Linked DNA regions of Homo sapiens: all the other regions are linked to region 1. Evidence: promoter capture Hi-C in 16 types of primary human blood cells and fetal thymus (Javierre and others, 2016). All regions are on one chromosome and are shown on one strand. The core of a region is centred on a gene start or on the middle of the fragment in contact, and the rest is flanking DNA. Distances in the headings are between cores, read along the strand shown. Region 1 holds the start of PLAG1 (PLAG1 zinc finger). Region 2 overlaps CHD7 (chromodomain helicase DNA binding protein 7). Region 3 has its middle 17 kb from the start of CHD7. Region 4 has its middle 33 kb from the start of CHD7. Region 5 overlaps PCMTD1 (protein-L-isoaspartate (D-aspartate) O-methyltransferase domain containing 1). Region 6 overlaps RAB2A (RAB2A, member RAS oncogene family). Region 7 holds the start of PCMTD1 (protein-L-isoaspartate (D-aspartate) O-methyltransferase domain containing 1).

Region 1 (3,115 bases), core at 414-2,913:
AGTCAGAAATTCTTCAAAAATAATACCTAGGTAACATCACATATACCCAGTTCGAGTTTGGTGCATGAGTTTCTTCACATTTCATTTCCTTTTCCTTCCGGATTCTAAATACAAGGCACTCTAAGTTTGGATTTCCGAAAGTCCCCTCCTTTGCATGAGTTCCTCGTGTATTAACTGGAATTGAAGAGGAAATGTCAATTTACAGTGAGGAGCGGGGCTGAATTACAACATCGAGTGCTCCGCTAAAGGGGCCTTGTCTATTACTTTTTGAATGTACTAAATAAATGTTACAAGGCTCTACTACTTGCAGAGCATAACCAGAAAGAAAAACCAAGCAAAGATATGAAGGAGGGGCCACAAAACCATAGCACATTCAGGGGATAACTCTAAAATCCACTCCAAAGGGCAAACTGCTTAATAAAGCAGTTCCTGATTTCCCATCCAGTGGTTCACGTCCCCCCTCTCTAAGTAGCTTTGAAAGGGCAGGGGGAAGGAAACGTTTCTGAACACGTTCATGCCCACACGCCCCGTGGTCGGAGCCCAGGCAGGGTCCGCGGCTCTGCTAAACCCGGAAGCTGCACACGCCGTGCCGTTAACCCACTGCCAGGTGCAAAGTGGAAGGGGGCAAGAAGTCAAGGGTGGCCTGCCGGAGGTGGGCGCGCAGGGCAAGGAGAAACGAAGGGCGAACCCGAGGCCTCGCCGCCTTCCGCGGTGTAGCCCGTCAGCATCTGATCCTGGACGGCGCGCACAGGTGAACACACCTTGCTGTGCCGAGACCATGCCGAGAGAGACAAGGGGCGAGGAAAACGCAGGGAACTGGGGGTGGGGCCGGTAACTGCGCTTCAGAGGCTACACAGGAGAGTGGAAGAAGAGCTGGGGTTGCCCGGACTAGGCAGAGGTCATCTTCCTCGCCCCCGGAGCGAACAGACCCGTGTGGCGGGAGGAAGAGCAACGGGAAGAGGTCCGCGCTGCGGCGAAGCCTGGCGGGAGCGCCTCCGCGCCGCAGAAGTGCATTCGGGCCCCGCTACGGCCCAAGGGCACCCCTCTCTCCCCGCTTTTCTGCGGCCGCTTCGGAGGTAGGGCGGGGGAACCACTCACCTCCGGCCTCCGCTTCGCCAGCACCCAGGCCGTCTCCAGCTCCAAACACGTCAATGGCTCACGCAGCAGGACCTTAAGTAGCGCGCATCCCAACTTGCTGCCCCCGCTCCCCGGCGGCAGCCCGCCCAATCGGCGCGCGCCGCCGCCAGACTGACAGCCGCGCGGGGCCCTGGGCCGCAGGGGCGGTCGGGCCTCGCCCCGCCCCCGCCTGGCGAAAGGAGGGCCGAGGCGGGAGGAGTGGGCGGGGCGGTGAGCGCGACCCCGCCCCCTCTTCCCCCGCCCCACCGCGCCCCCCAGCCGCGGCCCGTCTCTTAACACTTCGGCTTGACGGGCGGCGTCGCGGCCCAATGGGCGGGCCAACTCCCGCCAGCGGCGGCTCCGAGTGGCCAGCTCTCGGGCGGAGCGCGCGCGGGGGGCGGGCGCAGCGGCGGGCGGGGTTTGGGGGCGGGCCGACGGGAGGCGGGGGCGGTGGCCGAACAGGCAGGGGGAGGCAGCGGTGGGCGCGACGTCGGCGGCGGCGGCGGCGGCGGCGGCGGCAGCTGCAAGTTGGGCTGCAGGGGCAGCGCATACACTACAATGGCTGCTGGAAAGAGGCGTAAGGAAACAATTTCCAGGCCCGCCGCGTCCAGCCCGAAATATGAGAAAAAAATTATTAGAAATTCCGCGGGCGGTGTAGAGGCGGCGGACGGGCCGGAGGGAGGATGTTAAAGCCCCGCGGTGAGTTCTCCGGGGGTCCGGGGCGGCGGCGAGGCGTTTAGCGGGAGAAATATCAGGGTTATTTAAATTATGGGACTAGCCGAGGGGGCAGAGGAGCAGCGGCGGCGGCAGGAGGAGGAAAAGTTTGTGCTACTCTCAGCCCCTGCTCAGGACCCCAGAGAGAAAAATAATAATAAAAAATAAAATAAAATAATTACGCGGGGCTGCGAGGACTCCCGAAGTCGCTTCTGACAGGGCAGGGGGCGATGCGGCTGGGGACCCGAAGGTGAGGTCGGTGGGAAAAAAAAAAAAACCTTTATTCAGGGTCTGGAAAGTTTGAAAAGTTTTCCTCCTCCTCCTCCTCCTCCTCCTCTCTGGTGCTGTGAATATTGTGACAGCGGCAGCGGCAGCAGCGAGAGCGGAAGACATTAGAGACCCGAAAAATAAGGGAAAAATTAATATAAATTCAGTTTTGAGAGTAAACTCTCCGCATTTTCCACCAAAACATCCCGGGGGAAGGTCGCTTCCCAAAGGGCCTGGCGGAAACCCGCAGTCGGCAATATTTGGGGGGCACTTTGAGTGACTTGGGGTAACTTTGCCCCTTTTTCAAAAGAGGTTTTTCTTTTCTGGAGAAATGAATTTGTTTTTGCCCTTTCCTCAGGTGGGCAAGCCGGGGTCGGGGTGCGGGGTCTGCAGGGAGGTGTGAGCCCGGGGTGTGTGGCTGCGAGGGGGGGTAGGGGGAGGGGGTGCTAAATGAAAGCAGGAGATCGGCACAGAGCAGGGACAGCTTGTTGTCAGTATCATAAACAACCAAAATGGAGGGAGAACTCAGGCATATAACCAAATAAAAATTTTTAAAAAATCGCAAAAAATCCCTAAAAATCCGGGATGCTCCCCCTTTTCTCGCTAAAGGTAAAAGTATGTACCGCCTTTCCCCTGAAGTCCATTTTGACTTTGCAGGGACCAAGGAGTTAATATTTATTTATTTTTTAAAACTTTCGAAGGGCAAAAGCCTTTTATAACTCAACCGACAATGAGAAAACGTGAAAATCCGATGCAAGAGAAGCAGGGGGAGCGAGGGGGGAGGTGGTAGTGCAGAAACTGCTAAACTTATTGGTAATGTGGACTGATCTCAGATAAGATAAACACTATATTTGCTATTTTATAACTCTCTTTTAATGATCTTTGCGGGGTTTTTTTGGGTGGAAAAAAAAGTGATGCCATTTTCTTAATAGAGTTAATATGTGTGATTGGAAGAATGAACCTTTCCGGCTTTAGATTGCATTTTCGTCGCATTTATGCTTCAGGTTTTGTTAGTGGC
Region 2 (3,115 bases), core at 433-2,932, 4.5 Mb before region 1:
TAGTACAAGGATCTCCCATAAATCCACACGTTACCAGTTATTTACTTTTTGACTCACTTATTTTGTTATTCCAAGTCATTTTCAAGTAAAGAAATAGAATAGAATAAAATGAAAATTGTCTATACTCCATCTCTTCCATTTCCCTGCCAATCTGGGTAGCAGTGAGATTCTAAGTAGGCTACCCCAGAGCCTTCCCTCTCCTAAGAACCTTCTTATGTTCTAGTTGCTACTCACATCCCTGACCCCAACCCAAGCCTACTCCCATTTCAGATACCATCTTGTCTCCTCTTTACATGGTAAAGAGAACTTGGGAGGAAGGGACTGAGGAATCAAAGCTTCTGAGATTTGAGGATCTGGAGCTCCTATAGATTTTGAGAACACCCTGTGACCTCTGGTCTAAATCAGAAAACCGTAATATCCCAGAGCTGATCAAACATGCCTACACCACTGATCATCTAGGATAACATCACCCACCATGTTTGGAGAATTGCAGATTTGGGACAAAGAAGAAATGACTGTTTCACTAGAAGGACAGCCATAACTCTGGTAGGAGATGAACATCTTCAGGACAAGAGATAAGCACTCCCTCAAACCTGTCACTTTTAGTACCTGGGATATCTGAATCAACTCTATATAATCAACAAGAGAATTAGGCAAATAACATCTGGTTGCACTGATGGACAAAGGACATAAAGATGTTATTTTCAAATGTCTTCTCCTGAAGAAAAATGAAAATTGTGTAGCCAGTCACCATTTTAGGCCACTCATTCTTGTCCAGTCATCTGTAGGATTATGGTTTGAGGGACTTTTTAAAACAAAAGTAAAAGCAATACATATGATTTGATAAGTTCCATGATTAAACTGAACTAATAAAAATAGTAACCACTCAATGAATATGCCATATGCTATACCAAGTATGTTAGCTGGAGTGCCTCACTTAACCTTCACCATAACCCTGGGCAGTTAGGAGAATGTATTATGTCCATTTTTATGATTCACACCCGTATCTGTCCGACATCAAAACTCAAATTCTCAGCCGCCTCAGAAGGCAACCTCCACAAGAACAACTCTTCTCCTCATCTCCATGTGAGCAGAAGGGCCTTAAGTGTGAAAGGCAAGGACCTGGTCGTTTTAGGTACGAAGACATCCCATGACATATGGCCCCACAACTACAGCAGGCACCAACAGAGGAAGTACAGAAAAAAATAGCCTGGGCTGGTAAGACACAGCAATAGGTAGCATCACAGCATGGCATGGGTATTTTTAACACACCTTTGTCTATTAAGACGGCAACAATGCAAGCTCCAGAGCTGGTCTACGTGGCAACAGCAGCACCATGCTTATGTACACAGATTGTGGAGTCTAGCTCATCTGGATTCAAATTCCTCCTCCACCACGTGCTAGAAATGTATGGCCCTGGGTAATTTAACTTCTCATCCCTTTTAGTCTCCTCATCTGTAAAATGGGGATAATAGTTCTACCTATTACCTAGAGTTGCTCTGATGAGGAAATGAAATGATCCATGACAACACTCAGCTGAGTAACTACCCAACTGGAAATAACAGCCGGTCATTATGGTTATTACTGTTATTTTTAATATTGTTTTATTATTTCTGCACTATTTTACTTGATTGGCCCAACATATACTTCAGGGTGGGGTACACTGTTAATCAAGATTTTGAAATTCTCAAGATGAATATGTATGATTTTTCTTGCAAGATCGGTACACTTGAGATTAATGAAAGCAAAATTTCAAGCACAAACAAGGCCAAGTATACAAGAACATAAAACACTTTAACAGAGACTTTTAAAAAATTATTTAAGGATATGGGCTCAACAATTTCAATATAGTGCCAGTTCTAACCATAAATAATTGCTAGGCTCATACACTTCAAAATACTTCACCAACTGGGGTATTTTTTTTTTATCATATTCCTGTGCTCAAACTGATTTTATTATTCACTTAGTATGCTAGCAAGCACTGCCTTGGAAACTAAAGGCATGCTTATAATTCTTCGAGGGACTTCTCACTATGACTGCTTAGTATTATGTTAAAGATGTTTAATAGTTTTTAGGTGTGTTGAAATAATATGCACATTTGCTAATTATGTTTTAAATATCAACAGACAGATTTCTAAAATGTTGATATAACAGGGCACAGTGGTGCATGCCAGTAATCCCAGCTACTTGGGAGGCTGAGGCAGGAAAAGCCTTTGAGCTCAGGAATTAGAATCCAGCCTGGACAGTATTGTGAGACCCCATCTCGAAAACGAAACAAAACAAAAATGGATAACAAATAAAATGTTTGTGGTTTCTTTCAAAATGATGAAAAGAGGACACAGTGGCCTCTAAAAAGTTAAAGTAGTTCCCCAAACTTGCTGCAGAACTAGAAAGAAAATTAACTAGTAAGGTGCCATGTACCCTTTTTTAGACATACTGCAAATATGGTATAGAAATCTGACTGTTTTACACTGAGGATACTAGGGAAAGGAGGTGATGTGTCCAACCTAACACATGTGTCTAATTGCACACCTTTCCCTACACAAAGGGTGGGTGTGGAAACCCAGGTCGCACGCGGTCCCTGCTCAGCAGCAGATGGCTATTTGCCCAACCTCATCCTGATGAAATACATGGTGGAAAACTCAAATCCACCACATGACCTCTGCTGCCTCCTCAGCCACTGCAGATGCCAGGAGAGAAGGCAGGCCCCAAAGAAGCATCCCCTCTATTCTTCCATTAAAGCCACATCCACAGGGGCCTGCATGCGCCTTTCCATTCGATGTCTACACCTCTTAGAAATGATCTCTTACACCCTAAGAATACACTGCTGGCTGGACCTAATGACAGAATGTATTTTAAAGAGTTTTTTTTTTTTTTTTTTAAGAAAAACTGGCAAGTTGAAGAAATAGTATTAGATATAAATTGCCACAGAGTAGTTGGCACAAGCCCATCTGAAGCTGAAGTTAGTGCACCAAGTTTTCCTGCCATTCCACACGTGGAAACATTACTTCTCCTGAATTTAAGCTTATTCAAATAATCACTCAAAACTATTGCAGGTGAAGGTAAACTTTCACATGAAGCATGTCCCTACAAACAACACAAGACAGGAAGGAAC
Region 3 (3,115 bases), core at 155-2,654, 4.5 Mb before region 1:
TCTAAAGATTAAAAGGCACTTAAAGAGCCACATCGACCAAGTGTGACTTATTGGCCTTATTTGAGTCCTGATCTAATAAAACAGCTCTTAGAAAAAAAAAAAGTACTACACAATTGAGGAAATTTGATGTCACTGAATATTCACTGACATTAAGAAATTCTTTTTAATTTTTAGATATATTTTTGTTATTGTGGTTGGGGTTTTTTAATGAGTCCTTATATGTGTGAGATATACACTGAAATCTTTACAGATGAACTGATATGATTTCTGGCATTTGCCTTAAATAATCCAGTGGGATAGGCCAGGCGCGTTTGCTCATGCCTGTAATCCCAGCACTTTAGGAGGCCAAGGCAGGTGGATCCCTTGAGCCCAGCAGTTTGAGACCGGTCTGGGCAACATGGCAAAACCCTGTCTCTACGAAAAATACAAAAATTAATCAGGTGTGGTGGCATGCAACTGTAGTCCCAGCTACTTGGGAGCCTGAGGTAGGAGAATGACTTGAGCCCCTCAACCTCCAGGTCAGGGCTGCGGTAAGCTGTGATCGCACCACTGCACTCTAGCCTGTGAAACAGAGCAAGACCCTGTCTCAAAAGTAAATAAATAAAAAACCCAATGAGGGTGGGAAATGGGGACAGTTGGGTACAGAGGAAACAAGAGTGGCCAGAAATTGATGATTGTTGGACTTGGGTGATAGTACCTGGGGAGGGGGTTGTGGTTATACAGTTCTTCCTATTTTTGTGTATGTTTAAATTTTTTCCATAGTGACAGGTTTTTAAAGTAAGTAAAGGAGAGAGTTCACCCCACGAAAGTCAACACTTCCCTGTGAAAGTGAATGTCTATAGACAGGTGAGCAGGTATCCCAAACTGAGTCCTGGGAAAGTTTCATATTGAAAGTGTAATTAGGAAAAGAGGAACTACAGATTTCCAGAATAGTAACAATGCACTCTGCTGGCAAAAAATCAGTGCTTTGGAATTCAGTAAGCCTGGGTTTGATTCCACCTCTCACTCTTACTAGATCTGTCATCTTACGCACATCACTTAACTTCTGTAAGCCACCAAGTCTCAGTTTTCTTATCTGTAAAAGTAGGGATAATAATTTCCTCTACCTCATAGAGTTATTTTGAAGGTTAAATGAAACATGTGTATACAGCACCTTATAGTCTGCCTGTCACAAAATAAGTGCTCATTAAATGTTTGCTATATTATTATTTTATTACTGAATACAATATCATAAAAGGTAAGGAAACACCATAATATGTAGTTTGACAGAAAGCAAAATTTAAAAAAATGTTTTGAGACAGGGTCATGCTCTGTCACCCAGGCTGGAGTGCAGTGGTGCAATGATGGCTCACTGCAGCCTCAACCTCCTGGGTTCAAGCAATCCTCCCACCTCAGTCTCATGAGTAACTGGGACTACAGGCGTGCGCCACCACACCTGGCTAATTTTTGTATTTTTGTAGTGATAGGGTCTCCCCATGTTGCCCAGGCTGGTCTCGAACTCCTGGGCTCAAGTGATCTGCCTGCCTCAGCCTCCCAAAGTGCTGGGATTACAGGCGTGAGCCAGTGGGACAGCCACAAGATAAAATTTTGATGAATGGGCAATGGCAATGGTGCCATGTTACAATCAAGGAGTCTGATGCCTTTACCAGATTAGGTAAAATAGAGAATTAGATAATTCAAAGTTCACTGATGATATCATGGTGTTCATTTCATAGAGATGTGTCGAGTACAACTAGATGACAAAAAATTAAGCTAGGAGTGGTGGGAAGCCATGGGAGCAGAGGGTACTATGAATTTCCTTATTTGGTGATGAAAGCAGAGAAAGGAACAGAGCATCAAAGACTCCTTTCAAAGTAGGGGAGCTCTTGCAAGTCTGCAGGAAGAAAGAAAGCAACTTACAGAGCCCAAGGAGATGCTGAGGCAGGAGCGGTGCACCCTCAGCCAAGGAAGAGGGAAGGAGGGCTGGTCCTGTGGTGAGGTTGGAGATTCAGAGAAGTCGGTTTACAACGGAATAGGTTTGGCGAATAAAAACAGCACAAAGCCAAGAGAGGAATCAGCATTTCCAAAGACACCGTGGAAGGAACTGCGAAGAAAGAAAAATAATGGAAACAGAAATGATCGGATGGGGAAGGGAGAAGCGCAGAGATGTTTGGGAATGGGCGAGAAGAGCGTTGAGATTTGGGCTAGCGGCTGAAGGTGGCAAGGGTGGAAGGGCTGGCTCTAAACCAGAGCTGACTCTATGGGGTGCAGGCCTGGCTCCCAAGCAGCGGCAGCCAGCACTCTGTCCTGCCGTGGAGATTGTTTGTGGCCTTTGAAGCCATCTTCTCTTGGGCGATTGGAGAAGGGCGTCAACTGACACCGGGTAATAAATGTGCGTTCACAGTGGCCCGTGGTGGAACAGAGCCCTCCAGCTGCCCGGGGTGGAACTGCAGGTGCCTGGTAGAGAGCAGAGCACCCTCCCCAGAAAGTCCAGGGAAAAACACAGTAGAAAGCAAATCCAGCCAGTGAGGCTCAGGGGTCATGATCAAAAGTGTCAACATGTAAAATCCTTTATTTGTATATAATTACTGAGCCTTTCACTCTACTTATACCTTTATCTCCACTCCCTTTCAGCTTACATCTATGCCTCATCCCAAGAAGGTCACAGCGCTGGATTCTTGTACTACCTAATAAGAGAAAAACCCCTGGAAATGTAGTGACTTGCTTGGAGTAAGAACTACTGAGTCTAAATGTCAGACTTTCCAACAAAGGAGATTAAGATTGGGTAGGAATACCTTTGAAATCTAGATTCATCTGGATTATGATGTCATATTTAGGTATCTTTTTAAATGTAGATACATATGGCCTAACCCTCTTCTTGTCCTCCAATATTCACTGCTCCTCTTCTCTCACACTAATAGAATTTTTAGCTGGAAACACAGTTTCCCAAAAGAAAGACTGTGTATCTCAGCTTCCCTTAAGAAAGACTGTGTATCTCAGCTTCCCTTGCAGCTAGGTGTGATGAAGTTGACCTGACAGGATATAAACAAAATATTGGTAGTAAGCTCCTGGGGAGCTTCCTAGAAAGACAGTCAGTGTGAGCCTTCTACCCTTTTTTTATTCCTTCCTCTACCCT
Region 4 (3,115 bases), core at 456-2,955, 4.4 Mb before region 1:
ATTTTAACTACTGCCTTGCGTTTCCAAAACTGGAAGTTCCTTGAGGTCAAAGAGGGTGTCTTACTCATCTGTACCTTTTTGGTGCTTAGCACAAAGCCTCACTTATGGTAGCACATGGGAAAGTAATAGCTGAATAATAACTGAAAATAAGTTTCTTTCTTCTGTTGATTCTTTTCCTAAATCAGCTTTCTAGGGTTTCAAAATTGAATTTTAAAAAATTTCAATCTTGTCAGTATTCATGTAGATAAAATTATGTACTTTAATCAATGTGTACATGATAGCATGCTTTTACAGTACTGTTTACAGCGATGTGCTCCTGAAAGTTCCATAAATTAATATTTGAAATTTAGGTGTTTTTAAATGTAATGTAATTTGATTTCTTGATTAGTGGTGAAGCTTTTTTTGTGTATAGTAAAGAATCATTCTGTAAGTTATATGAGTTTTTCCTGTATCAGATTTGCCTTAAATAATCCTATGTTGAACTCATTATAAATAGGTTTGACTCAGAAGTATCATTTTAGTGTTTTTTTGCTTGTGAACAGAAGAATAAGGACCACAATGTAATCATCGTATTTTTCTTCACGGGAATTCCACCATCTGTGTGTTTTGGGCAGTGGGAGAAGGGGGAGGGCAAACTTCTTCTCGGTCCCTCCTGTGTTTCTCTAGTTCTAGCAGGGACGTTTCTGTAATTGGTTTTCAACATTTGCTGAGAGTCTGTTTCCTCTTAACATTCAACATGTTTAACAGAAGTCTTGTAATAGTTCCAAAAATAATAAAACCAGTCCCAGGAATAAAAATGATACATTCACAGCATATTGGTGTTTTTTATTTTTTGTCATGGCTTTGGTTTTAAGTTCTTTTTAATAATTCCTAGTGTCAAATCACATGAAAGAAATAAAAAGGTTTTCTTCACAGTAATAAAGCCCAGTGAAGAAATGCTATCGATGACTCGTGCAGCGGGAGGAGTTGTCAGCCCAGAGGCAGTCACAGGACCATGTTGAAGGCACTCCTGGTACAGTGTGGCCATCTCAATGTCTAGCGCTTCTCTCTAGTGATGTTAAGTGGATGGTTATGGTTGCTTGTAATGCTGTAGCCTAGGACGAATGAGAGCTGATGCTTCTGATGTATCATTAATGCTGCTCTTAATCTGCTGAAATCATTCCTCACATTGTCAAATATTAACATAAAAAAGCAACACCTACTTATATTTCATCCCACCCCACCATCACCCCTAATACAGTGATTAATGTGTCCCAACAATAAATTTCTTTGCTTTAATAATTAGATGTTTGAATGAAAATAATTGGACTTCCTTTACAATTATTAATTAATTTAACATTATTATTATTATTAGAGCATCTTTAAGTGTTCAGGGCATCTGGACTTAGGAAGAGCTTTAAAATCCCAGAGAGAGATAAGAGGCAACTGCCAAGCAGGTAACTGGGGAGCTGATAACAAAATCTCTTTGATTTCATGCAAGGCATTTTAACTGTTTTTTCATCAGTAACTTGGAGTCCAAAAGACCTAAGACCTTGGCAATAAAAGCAATAATTCTGGTGAAATGTGGTCCTCTGTGTTGCTGTTACAGCATGTATCCCAGAGCCAGCAGGATTCACACCATGTTTGGGAAACTTTCGTCCTTTCCCTAAATCTGTCCCTTGCACTCTTCTAAATGAGCCCAGTTTTCCCTGGACCTGGATGGGTTGTGAACAGAAAGCCTTGTCACAAGTGTGGTTTGAACGCCAGCAGCATCCTCATGGCTGTACCTGGATCGTCTGACCCAGAGTCTAAAGACATCTTCAGGGGACTCACATGCACCCCACCACAGGAGAAGCCGGGCTGAGAGCACACCCCAAACTGAGGCCAACCAGAACCCCCCATAGCTCTCACAGTGGGAACCCCGTTGTGTATTCTGTACGCCATTTTGCAGGTTTCCAGAAAGTGGAAGGATTCAGTAGAATGAGAAGGAGTATGCACCTCACGGAGCTCCATCAATACTGCGGTTCTGGCCAGGTGCAGTGGCTCATGCCTGTAATCCCAGCACTTTGAAAGGCTGAGACGGGCAGATGGTTTGAGGCCAGAAGCTCGAGACTAGCCCGAAAGACATGGCGAAACTTCATCTCTACTAAAAGTACAAAAAAAAAAAAAAAAAAAAAAAAAGGCCGGGCGCGGTGGCTCATGCCTGTAATCCCAGCACTTTGGGAGGCTGAGGCGGGCAGATCACGAGGTCAGGAGATCAAGACCATCCCGGCTAACACAGTGAAACCCCGTCTCTACTAAAAATACAAAAAATTAGCCGGCCGTAGTGGCGGGCACCTGTGGTCCCAGCTACTCAGGAGGCTGAGGCAGGAGAATGGCGTGAACCCAGGAGGCGGAGCTTGCAGTGAGCCGAGATCATGCCACTGCACTCCAGCCTGGACGACAGAGCGAGACTCCGTCTCAAAAAAAAAAAAAAAAAGCCGGGCATGGTGGCACGTGCCTGTAATCACGTGCCTGTAATCCCAGCTACTCGGGAGGCTGAGGCACGAGAATCACTTGAACTCAGGAGGCGGAGGTTACTGTGAGCCGAGATCGAGCCACGGCACTCCAGACTAGGTGACAGAGTGAGACTCCATCTCAAAACAACAAAAACAAACAAACCAAAAAAAAAAAAACCCAAAAACATCCTGTGGTTCAAATTCAAATTATATCATCACCAAGGTAAAACCAAAAAAACAAACAGTGGTGGAGGATTGTCATTCAGTGTGTAAGCATTACATTTAAAATGTGTTTGTTTCTTAAGGCTGCTGTGAAAGTACCAGGGACTGGGTGGCGTGAAGCAACGGAACTGTATTCTCTCACAGTTCTAGACAAGAGTGGGAAATCCAGCTACAGGCAGGGCTATGCTCCTTCTGAGCTGCTGGGTAGAAACCTTCCTGGCCCAGCCTAGCTTCCAGGTTTCCTGCAATTGGCATTCTTTGGCTTGCAGCTACAGGGGAAGAGGGCACAGAACAGAGAGGGACACAGAAGCTTGGGAATGTCTCTTGGAGCGACTTTATAACCAGACTTTAGGCGACTCCCTTCGGACTCTGCGTCCTGAAGGCTGTGTTTGTAACAAGCCCCAAGTGACTCTGAT
Region 5 (3,115 bases), core at 204-2,703, 4.3 Mb after region 1:
GTTGAATTTCTTTGCTCTCCCTGTGTTTTTGTGTGTGTCCCTCTATTATTATCTATATATGCATATATATACATTTTACTCTTAATAACAATCTCCCCACTTGCTAGCCTTAGGACACTGAAGTATCAACTCTTTCACCTTTAATGGGAACTGTGGCATCTGTACTACAGTCTTTGCTACTTAATTTAATTCAGGCCATGGAAAATTACAAGTTTAAATACTTTATAATCTGATGATAATACTTTTGGTTTCATAGGTTTTATTCCATCTAGCTATTATATTCCTTGTTGATTTGCTCTCATTTTGAACTCTGAAGCATTTACCTTACTTTTTTTGTCTGTTCTTTTTTTTTGAGACGGAATCTCGCTGTGTCGCCCAGGCTGGAGTCCAGTGGCGCGATCTCAGCTCACTGCAAGCTCTGCCTCCTGGGTTCACGCCATTCTCCCGCCTCAGCTTCCTGAGTAGCTGGGACTACAGGCGCCCACCACCACGCCTGGCTAATTTTTTTTTTTTTTTTGTATTTTTAGTAAAGACGGAGTTTCACCGTGTTAGCAAGCATGGTCTCTATCTCCTGACCTCGTGATCCGCCTGCCTCGGCCTCCCAAAGTGCTGGGATTATAGGTGTGAGCCACTGCGTCCGGCCGTTTTTTATTTCTTTTTTTTTTTTTTTAAGTATGCTATTCATAACTAAATTGTAAGCTTTTAAAGACTTGCGTTTTCTCTCCAATGAAATATAATACCCCAAACAGGCTATGTTAATGTCCAGTGGAGTGTATAATTTGTCAAGTACATAGATATATGTCTTCTGTTCTTTTCATGATCTTAAATAACTGAGAAACTACACTCAGTTACTCATTAGCAGGGATCTTGAATAATATCTTTGTTATAAGGCATTCAACTAAGTGTCAGAAGTAAACAAGTGACTAGCATATAGACCCTTACTTTGAAGAGGCCACAGTCAAGTGGGTGGGAAACAGGATAATCACTTTGTGGAGAGATGATACAGAGATACATAGGCGGGTGTTTGAGAGCTTTTGAAAGAAGGTACAGTTATGAATTGAATGTTCATGTCCCCCTAAAAGTCACGTGTTGAAACCCTGACCGCCCCCTACCCCATGCCCAGTGCAGCTGTACTTGAATACGGGGCTTCCGAGGAAGTAATTAAGATCATAATGGTGAGGCCCTGATCCAATAGCGTCATTTTAAAAAGTGACACCAGAGAGCTCCCTCATGCTTTTTTGTGTGTACAAAGAAGAGGTCATGTGAGAACACAGCAAGATGGTGACCATCGGCAAGCCAGGAAGAGAGGCCTAGAGGCCTTACCAGAAAGTGATTCTGTTGGCACTTTGATCTTGGACTTCTAGCTTGAGAAAATAAATTTGGGTTGTTTAAGGCACCCAGTCTATGGTACTTTGTTATGACGCCTGAAAAGACTAAGGCTTATAAGTGTTTTGGGGTTGGACTTAGAGATTTCTAAGAGGAGGGGGACTCATTAGTGGCATCTGAGTGAACAGGGAGAACTTTCTAGGTAGAGACTTAATGCATATGCAAAAACATGGATGCTTGAAGAAGTTTATTGTGGTTAAGGGAACTTCAGCAAAGGCTGTGGGAGGAGAGATGGCTGGAGGTGCCCCTGAAATAGTATTCAGGGCTCAGATTAGATAATGCACTTTTGAAATCGAAAAAAATGGAGCCCAGATATGAGCAAAGTTCTGTGGCTTTTGACTTACACCGAGGTTTTAAGCCCAGCTCTAAATTTTTTTCTTTGTAAAATGGGTATAATAAAACCTACCTTGAAGGTTTTTTTGAAGAATAATTAAAAGACAATTCTAAAACAGTTGGTTGAATGCCAGGCAACTACTAAGTGTAGTAATTATTAATTAAGTTGGACAAAATCAGATCTGTTGGGCTCCAAATGAAGGTTGAACTTACTACACTCTGCCTGTCTGTAGATGTAAATATAGATGCTATCATATTTGTAATATTCTTGTCTAATGGGATGGGATTAGGATGACAGTCTGGCAAATTGAGGCGTTTTGTCTTATGACCTGTTTTTCTGTGGAGGACGAAGAAGGACCCTTGTGGAGCCTAGTCTTGAGGGGTTGTTGGTTGTAGTAGTGGTAATGAATTTGCTGTGCAGGTGGGAGCCAGAGGTAAATAAACACAAGAGATATTGCTGGGCATTATTGAAAATCCAGTTAAGCTTGAAGAATATAAATGTTTAGTGGCACCACCAACACAGGCACTGGATTTCTTTCTTAAGTAACACTTCACAATATAAAACAGTCCATGGAGAAGAGAGATTATTGGCTTGTTCCATGATCAGAAGTTTGCAAGATGAGTGAAGCAGAAAGTTAGAATGAAGGATTGAGAGTAATGAAGACTCAGTAAGTGAAGCAGTGTTCGTGGGGTTGATTTGGGAAGAAGATGAGAGTAGGTGTTAGCCGGTTGTAGCCCATGGGCCAAACTTGGACTACTGTCTTTTTTTGTGTGGTCTGCAAACTAAGAATGGTGTTTACTTTCAAATGGTTGGAAGACTATTTTATGACATGAAAATGATATGACATTCCAATTTTAGTGTCCAGAAATAAAATTGTATTGGAACAAAGCCATACTCTTTAACTTTTAAGTTGTCTATAGCTACTTTTGCCTTACAACAGTGGTGTTCAGTAGTTGGGACAGAAACTATTGCCTGCAAATCCTAAAATGTTTATTAACTGGCCTTTTCAGAAAAAGTTTGCTGATCCTTGGGGTAGAGTACTAGTGACATTGACTGTAGTGGCAGACAACAAGCAAAGTAGACATAAAATCAGGTCAGAGAAAAAAGTAAGGATTCAGGTTGGACAATTGGGTGATATAAGTCCTCAGTTAAAGGTGTCATAGTTGTTCCTTTGGAGATTGAAAAGGTTGTTCATGTACGTTGAGGATGCCCCTGATTATGGTATGAGTTGGGGAGTAGAGAAGACTACAGTAGAGATGCTAGAGTTCCCAATAAAGGTGGAAGAGTTGATATTTCCTAAGGATAGGAAGTGGGGGATTATTATTAATATGTAAGAAAACATAGTAAGAGATGAAAATACAAAACATGTTTTCCTATACCTTTTTCAATAAGTTT
Region 6 (3,115 bases), core at 302-2,801, 4.3 Mb before region 1:
GTATGTGATAACCAGTGTCCCTTTCCTCACCTATAAAATGGTGTCTTCCTCATAGATTCAATGAGTTATGCCTCTAGAGAAAATGCCCTATAAAAGCAGTTGTATATTTACACTCGCTATACTGTATTATTTTTAAGAGGAATCAGAAGCAAAGCTTCTTTCAAGATTCTCAATGTCAGCAGTTACTAAGTATATACATGAACATACTTCAAAAAAAAAATAATGGATACTATGATTAGGGTAAATGAGCAGGGTTGTCTTTTTGCACTGGTTAGTGCTAAATTCAGTGACCACTTCAAAGAAGTCTACACCACCTCATATCATAGACTTTGAGTATAAATGTCCTGATATGGTTTGGCTCTGTGTCCCCATGAAAATCTCATCTGGAATTGTAATCCCCACATGCTAGGGGAGTGGCCAATCTGGTTGTTTAATAAGGCATGGCCCTTCCTCCATTGTCCCTCTCCTGCCGCCTTGTGAAGAAGGTGCCTGCTTCCCCTTTGCCTTCTGCCATGATTGTAATTTTCCTGAGGCCTCTCCAGCTCTCCAGAACTGTGAGTCAATTAAACCTCTTCTGATCTTATTTTACTGTTTCTACCATTTGCTCCTTAGCCCTTGAAATTGTCTGGCTCTGTGTCTCCACCCAAATCTCACATCAAATTGTAATTTCCAATGTTGGGGGAGGGGCCTGGTGGGAGCTGATTGGGTCACAGAGGTGGATTCCTCCCCTTGCTGTTCTCAGTGACAGTGAGTTCTCACGAGATCTGGTTGCTTAAAAGTGTGTAGCACTTCCCCCTTCACTCTCTCTTTCCTGGTCTGACATGGCTAGATGTGCTTGCTTCCCCTTCACCTTCTGCCATGATTATAAGTTTCCTAAGGCCTCCCAGCCATGCTTCCTTTACAGCCTGTGGAATTGTGAGTTAATTAAACCTCTTTTTCTTCATAAATTCCCCAGTCCCAAGTACTTCTTTTTTTTTTTTTTTTTTTGAGATGGAGTCTCGCACTGTCGCCCAGGCTGGAGTGCAATGGTGCCATCTCAGCTCACTGCAACCTCTCCCTCCCGGGTTCAAATGATGCTCTCATCTCAGCCTCCCAAGTAGCTGGGATTACAGGCGCATGCCGCCACGCCTGGCTAATTTTTTGTATTTTAGTAGAGATGGGGTTTCACCGTGTTGCCCAGGCTGGTCTCGAACTCCTCAGCGCAAGCAATCCACCCGCCTCAGCCTCCAAAGTGCTAGGATTACAGGCGTGAACCATCATGCCTGGCCTCAGGTAGTTCTTTATAGCAGTGTGAGAATGGACTAATGCAGGCCTTTATGGTAAGCGGAAAAATGCCCTCCAAAAGATATTAACATCCTAATCCCCAGAACCTGTGAATATTTTACCCTAGCATGGCAAAGGGGATTTTGTAGATTTGATTAAGATTAGACCTTGAGATGGGGAGATTAGCATGTATTATCCAGGTAAGCCCAATCTAATCACATGAGTCCTTAAAAGTGGAAAACCTTTCCTAAAACAGAGAGACTTGGGATGGCCCAACAAGAAAGATGAGACACAAGAAGGACGTGACCCACTGTTGTTGGTTGTGAAGATGGAGGAAGGGGGCCATGGGCCAAGGGATGTGGGTAGGTGGGTGGACTCTAGAAGTCGGGAAAAGCTCTCAGATGATAGCCAGGAAGGAAACGGGGTCTCAGCCCTACAGTTTCATGGAAGTATATTCTGCCAACAACCTGAATGAGCCAGGTAGCTGAATGAGCTAGAAGGGAACCCAGTCCTGTTGAAACCTGGATTTCATCCCAGTGACACGTTAGACTTCTGAACTATAGAACCGTAAGATAAATTCATGTTGTTTCAGTTGCTAAGTTTCTGGTAGTTTGTTATGCTAGCAACAGAAAACTTATATATATATATATATATATATATATATATATATATGTACACACACACATATATACATATAGACATATATACATATAGACATATAGACATATATATACATATATACATATATAGACATATATATATATCTTTATTCTCTCATTTACATTAAAAAAACTAAAAAATATATATATATAAGTGCCCTTAAATCCTGTTTTGAAACAAGGAGGAATAAATTGGTCAATGCATGCAGCCTACCCAGCAGAACCTACCTAGCACACATTCATTATTTACTGAAGCACTAACTCTAACTCTGTACCAGGCACCATCCTTCCTTTAAGGAGCTGGCTACAGCATGCTGCTATCAATATTCATTTTCTCCCTTAGATTTGGCTAAAAACACAGTGACTCTCAGCTATACCTGAAAATGAGAATATTTTAAAGTGAGAACTGGGAGAAACCTAAAGCTACATTATGGCTATGAAAAGTAAAAACTCAGAAGATATGGGGAAAGAAAGAGCAAAGGGGAATGGAGCCAGACCACCCTGTAATCAAGAGAATGGCCCGTGGAGTCAGACACCCCTAGATCTTTGTTCTACCACTGTATTCGTTCGTTTTCACACTGCTATAAAGATACTACCCGAGACTGGGTAATTTATAAAGAGGCTTAATTGACTCACAGTTCTGCATGGCTGGGGAGGCCTCAGAAAACTTATAATCATGGCAGAAGGGGAAGCAGGCACATATTACGTGGCGGCAGGAGAAAAACAGAGTATGAATGAGGAACTGTCAAACACTTATAAAACCATCAGATCTCATGAGCACTCACTATCACCAGATCAGCATGGGGGAAACTGACCCCATGATCCAATCACCTTCCATGGGATCCCTCCCTCAACACGTGGGGACTACAGAAATTAAAATTTGAGATGAGATTCGAGTGGGACACAGAGCCAAACCAGATCAACCATCTACTAAGATAATTTGCCCCAAATGACACAACTCAGTTTCTCCATCTGTAAAACAGTAATCTCATGTATCTGTTGAAGAATTAACAGATAATAAGCTTTTGATATGGTGTAGGAACTATAAAAAGTGTGGAGGATTACTCATGAGAATCTGCTATACAGACCACAATGCCAAAAGCTAATGTGATGGAGAATTCCATACAAATTCAGTCTGGCTACACCTTAGGGATTAAATAAAATCCCCCAAAGCAGAAAACTTGGCAGCAGAA
Region 7 (3,115 bases), core at 408-2,907, 4.3 Mb after region 1:
AGATTTTGAACAGTTCGGAGCTCAATGTCCACTGAATATGCACTCATACTTTAAACCTAAATAAAGTGAAGCCTTTGAGTTAAATGGCAGAGCGCCTCAGCAGCAATTTTGCTCGTTTTCAAGTTCTTATTTCGTGATTTGAAGCTTTTGACCTTGCTAGCATGTTCTTTCTGAACGCTTTTGCAGATGGTTGGTTATGGTGGGGAGTAGTAACCCTAGCATAAAGACGTTCTAATTCTAACTTACCTTAGGTAACCTATAAGGGTAGCTTACGCTCACTCTCATACTTGAAAATCAAAACCGAACAGAATTCACACGATGGAAGCAAATCATGCTACAACCTACTATTAGAGACTGAAGGGAAACGCACAAAGATTAATGAACAACAAAGAACACTTCAAAAAGTACAGTATTTGGAAAAGACATGCCTTTATGTACACTAAAACTAATTTAAAAAATTAAATGCAGTTTGCTAGGAGTCTTACAAGTATTAACAGCATGTTCACTGCTTAGGATCCTTAGTAGCAATATTTTCCCGGCTCGCCTGCCCCTATGCCTCATTTCCTCTTCTTTTTTTTTTTGAGATGGAGTTTCGCTCTTGCCGCCCAGGCCAGGTGCCATCTCAGCACTGCAACCTCCGACTCCCGGGTTCAAGCGATTCTCCTACCTCAGCCTCCCGAGTTGCTGGGACTACAGGCGCACGGCACCACACCCGGCTAATTTTTGTATTTTTAGTAGAGACGGGGTTTCACCATGTAGGCCAGGCTGGTCTCTAAGTCCTGACCTCAGGTGATCCGCCTGTCTCGGCCTCCCAAAGTGCTGGGATGACAGGCGTGAGCCACTCACCCGGCCCTCTTCTCGACTTTCTATCCCTCCTCCTCAACACCCTTTCCTTCTGGAAATGGGCTTTGGGGTGGTTAACCAAGCCCAGGGAAACTTGCGTGGCCCAGCATCTTCCGTCCGCTGCAGGAGGAGCACACGCCCCCGGCCCGGGTCAGCAAGACGCGAGAAAGCGGCCACGCCGGGCGTCCGGGAGCTGAGGCTGGAGGGCGCCTGGCAGGCAGGGCGGGGCCCAGGCGGCGGGAGTGCTTATGACCGGCGCTGGGGGGAACTTCTGGACGTCAAGGGGCCACTATAAAGCGGCACAGTCTTGAGCCTTCGCTCTTCACCTAAGTCAGTGAGCGCCCTTCGCAAAGCCTCTGTGGAGGTAACCATTGGGGGTTCGCCTCCAAATCCAGGAATGCACCTCAAAAATGCTCCTACACCGTAAGACCGTGTCCTTCAATGCAAAGGGGACTGTGCGGCGAGGCACCGACAAGCCGTAGCCCTGAGACCACTGAAAGCCTGCACCCCAGCGCCGGTGCGAGAACGTGGAGATGGCGGTGGGGAGGAGAGGTGGAGGCCATGCTCTCGCGTGATCTCCCCTACCGCCATCGTCTTCTGGCCTGTCAAGGCCTCGCGTTGTTTGGGCTTGGGGGCGGAGCGAGCCCTGAGGGGGGCGGGGCCAGATGGGGGCGTCTCCCGGCCTTGTTGACTTTGGCGTCCGCGGGGAGCTGCCCCTGTGCCCGTGGTTCTCTGCGCATGCCCGGACCCCGGCGGCTCCGGAGTCCGGGAGGCTCTGGCTGCTCCAGTCGCGGGTCCGGGCCCCGCCTCTCCACTCGGCGGTGGCGTCCGTGTTGTTATTGTGGTGGTAGCGGCGTCTGGCTGCTGCGGACCCCGCCGAGTCCTAGCGCCTGGCCTGCGCGCCGCTGCCCGCGCCACAGGTAACGCCGCCGCCAGTGGGGGCTCGGGGTCGTGGGGTGTGCGAGTCCCGCGTGCTAGGGCCGGGCGGGCGACTGGGATGCGCTTGGAGGCCAGAGGGCCAGGGGGACGGCAGCCGAAGAGTCGGGGGCAGGGGGACTTAAGGGCGGGCAGGTCGGGGGCCAGGAAACTGAGGCGCTGCGGGGCAGGTTGGGGGAAGGACGGGCCGGGGGCGGAGGACTTGGGAGGTCGGGGAGTCGAAAGGGGCCCAGCGAAGCCTGGAGGTCGGGAGCCGGGGTCCCTGGGGCCGGGGAGGTCGGGGGCCCGAGGGAGGCCGGGGCGCCGCGTCCTCGGCCCGTCCTCGGCTCGTCCTCGGCTCTGACCTGGGCTTGGGGACCAGAGTCCCGAGGCTGGCGTCTTGAGATGCCCGCGGGCCCCTTAGGGCCGTTTTGGATCCGCCCAGTGACTTCTGTTTTGGTTTTGGAGGCAGAGAATCCAGTCTACGTAGACTCGGGGAAGTCTCGGGGGCTGGGAGGGGACTGAGAGGTTATAGCAGGCGCCAAGGCCTCTTTTTGTGTTTTTGAGCGTCTACTACCGTTCCGGGGAAGTGCAGTGCCCGCGTTTTGCTTGGGGAATTTCAGACACCGGCATGGGGAGGACCCACGGGCAGAACCCGAGGGAGTAATTTTGCAAATCCAAGATTTTTTGGAACTTCTATAATTTTGTTTTCGTGTGTCCTCTTTTTAGAATCGAGAAACCAGAGATATATTTTTAACATTACAAATCAGAAGAATTTGCTACGGAGGAAAAAAGTATGCTTTTAGCAGTGTTTTTCCCCTATTTATTTTTTTAATTACAAAAGTACTGCTTGCTCCTTGAGAAAAACATGAAGCAGCCAAACAATGAGGAAACCTGCCCTCTCTCGCGCCCTTCCCCCCATATTTCTCCTTCTTACTACCCAGGGTAGCCAGTCTCCAAGTGTGGTGGGTAGTTATTCAGGATTTTTTTTTTCTGTGCATTTAATGAGTGTGCTTTAGAAACAAGATTGGGATCATATATAGTACAGTATATCGTTTTATTAGCCAACAATGCATCATGGATATTCCTCCATTTTATTACACACCTCATTATTTTAAAAAACATTATTACTATGTATTAGAGAATCCAATCTACGTAGGCTTGGGGAAGCCTTTTCTTCATTGTTAAACATGGTCGCCAAGTTTTCAATAATCAGTAGCTTTGAAAAGGGCTACAAGCCAATATTTTGAAACAATGTGGCAAAACTTTCAGAATGTCTGCGGCCAGACGACATTACTTTCGTATTAAGCAGATTAATATGTTTACGTATTGCTTAATGGTAGTTTACATGAGGCTA

What was found. Contacts are between HindIII fragments. The CHiCAGO score rates a contact against its expected background, and 5 or more counts as called.
Region 2: a fragment that was not itself captured here is called in contact with the fragment with the promoter of PLAG1 in region 1 in 1 of 17 cell types (neutrophils); the score reaches 8.0 in neutrophils.
Region 3: a contact is called between a fragment that was not itself captured here and the fragment with the promoter of PLAG1 in region 1, in 1 of 17 cell types (neutrophils). The highest score is 6.8, in neutrophils.
Region 4: a fragment that was not itself captured here is called in contact with the fragment with the promoter of PLAG1 in region 1 in 2 of 17 cell types (neutrophils and total CD4 T cells); the score reaches 8.0 in neutrophils.
Region 5: a contact is called between a fragment that was not itself captured here and the fragment with the promoter of PLAG1 in region 1, in 1 of 17 cell types (total CD4 T cells). The highest score is 7.1, in total CD4 T cells.
Region 6: a fragment that was not itself captured here is called in contact with the fragment with the promoter of PLAG1 in region 1 in 2 of 17 cell types (neutrophils and total CD4 T cells); the score reaches 8.7 in neutrophils.
Region 7: a contact is called between the fragment with the promoter of PCMTD1 here and the fragment with the promoter of PLAG1 in region 1, in 4 of 17 cell types (activated CD4 T cells, total CD4 T cells, naive CD8 T cells and 1 more). The highest score is 16.5, in activated CD4 T cells.

The regions. Positions count from the first base shown.
Region 1 is chr8:56,209,821-56,212,935 of GRCh38, reverse strand. It overlaps PLAG1 (PLAG1 zinc finger), which reads left to right and starts at 1,663. Exons shown (of 5, transcript NM_002655.3): 1 at 1,663-1,815. CHCHD7 (coiled-coil-helix-coiled-coil-helix domain containing 7) reads right to left here and starts at 1,147. Exons shown (of 4, transcript NM_001011671.3): 1 at 1,099-1,147. RefSeq lists an enhancer at 969-1,038 and silencers at 1,051-1,276, 1,119-1,678. The HindIII fragment of the contact is 9,849 bases long and covers 1-3,115 here.
Region 2 is chr8:60,686,115-60,689,229 of GRCh38, reverse strand. The region is part of intron 1 of CHD7 (chromodomain helicase DNA binding protein 7); the gene reads right to left. Among named protein-coding and RNA genes, the nearest start is that of CHD7, 8.9 kb to the right of the region's middle. The HindIII fragment of the contact is 2,689 bases long and covers 338-3,026 here.
Region 3 is chr8:60,659,969-60,663,083 of GRCh38, reverse strand. No RefSeq gene overlaps it. Among named protein-coding and RNA genes, the nearest start is that of CHD7, 17 kb to the left of the region's middle. The HindIII fragment of the contact is 4,989 bases long and covers 1-3,115 here.
Region 4 is chr8:60,644,094-60,647,208 of GRCh38, reverse strand. No RefSeq gene overlaps it. Among named protein-coding and RNA genes, the nearest start is that of CHD7, 33 kb to the left of the region's middle. The HindIII fragment of the contact is 2,613 bases long and covers 399-3,011 here.
Region 5 is chr8:51,880,374-51,883,488 of GRCh38, reverse strand. The region is part of intron 1 of PCMTD1 (protein-L-isoaspartate (D-aspartate) O-methyltransferase domain containing 1); the gene reads left to right. Among named protein-coding and RNA genes, the nearest start is that of PCMTD1, 17 kb to the left of the region's middle. The HindIII fragment of the contact is 1,504 bases long and covers 702-2,205 here.
Region 6 is chr8:60,524,841-60,527,955 of GRCh38, reverse strand. All of the region lies in intron 1 of RAB2A (RAB2A, member RAS oncogene family), which reads right to left. Among named protein-coding and RNA genes, the nearest start is that of RAB2A, 9.4 kb to the right of the region's middle. The HindIII fragment of the contact is 2,790 bases long and covers 157-2,946 here.
Region 7 is chr8:51,897,578-51,900,692 of GRCh38, reverse strand. PCMTD1 (protein-L-isoaspartate (D-aspartate) O-methyltransferase domain containing 1) reads left to right here and starts at 1,657. Exons shown (of 6, transcript NM_052937.4): 1 at 1,657-1,763. It overlaps PCMTD1-DT (PCMTD1 divergent transcript), which reads right to left and starts at 1,378. Exons shown (of 4, transcript NR_189279.1): 1 at 847-1,378. RefSeq lists enhancers at 541-600, 901-960, 1,131-1,420 and a silencer at 1,461-2,150. The HindIII fragment of the contact is 4,691 bases long and covers 147-3,115 here.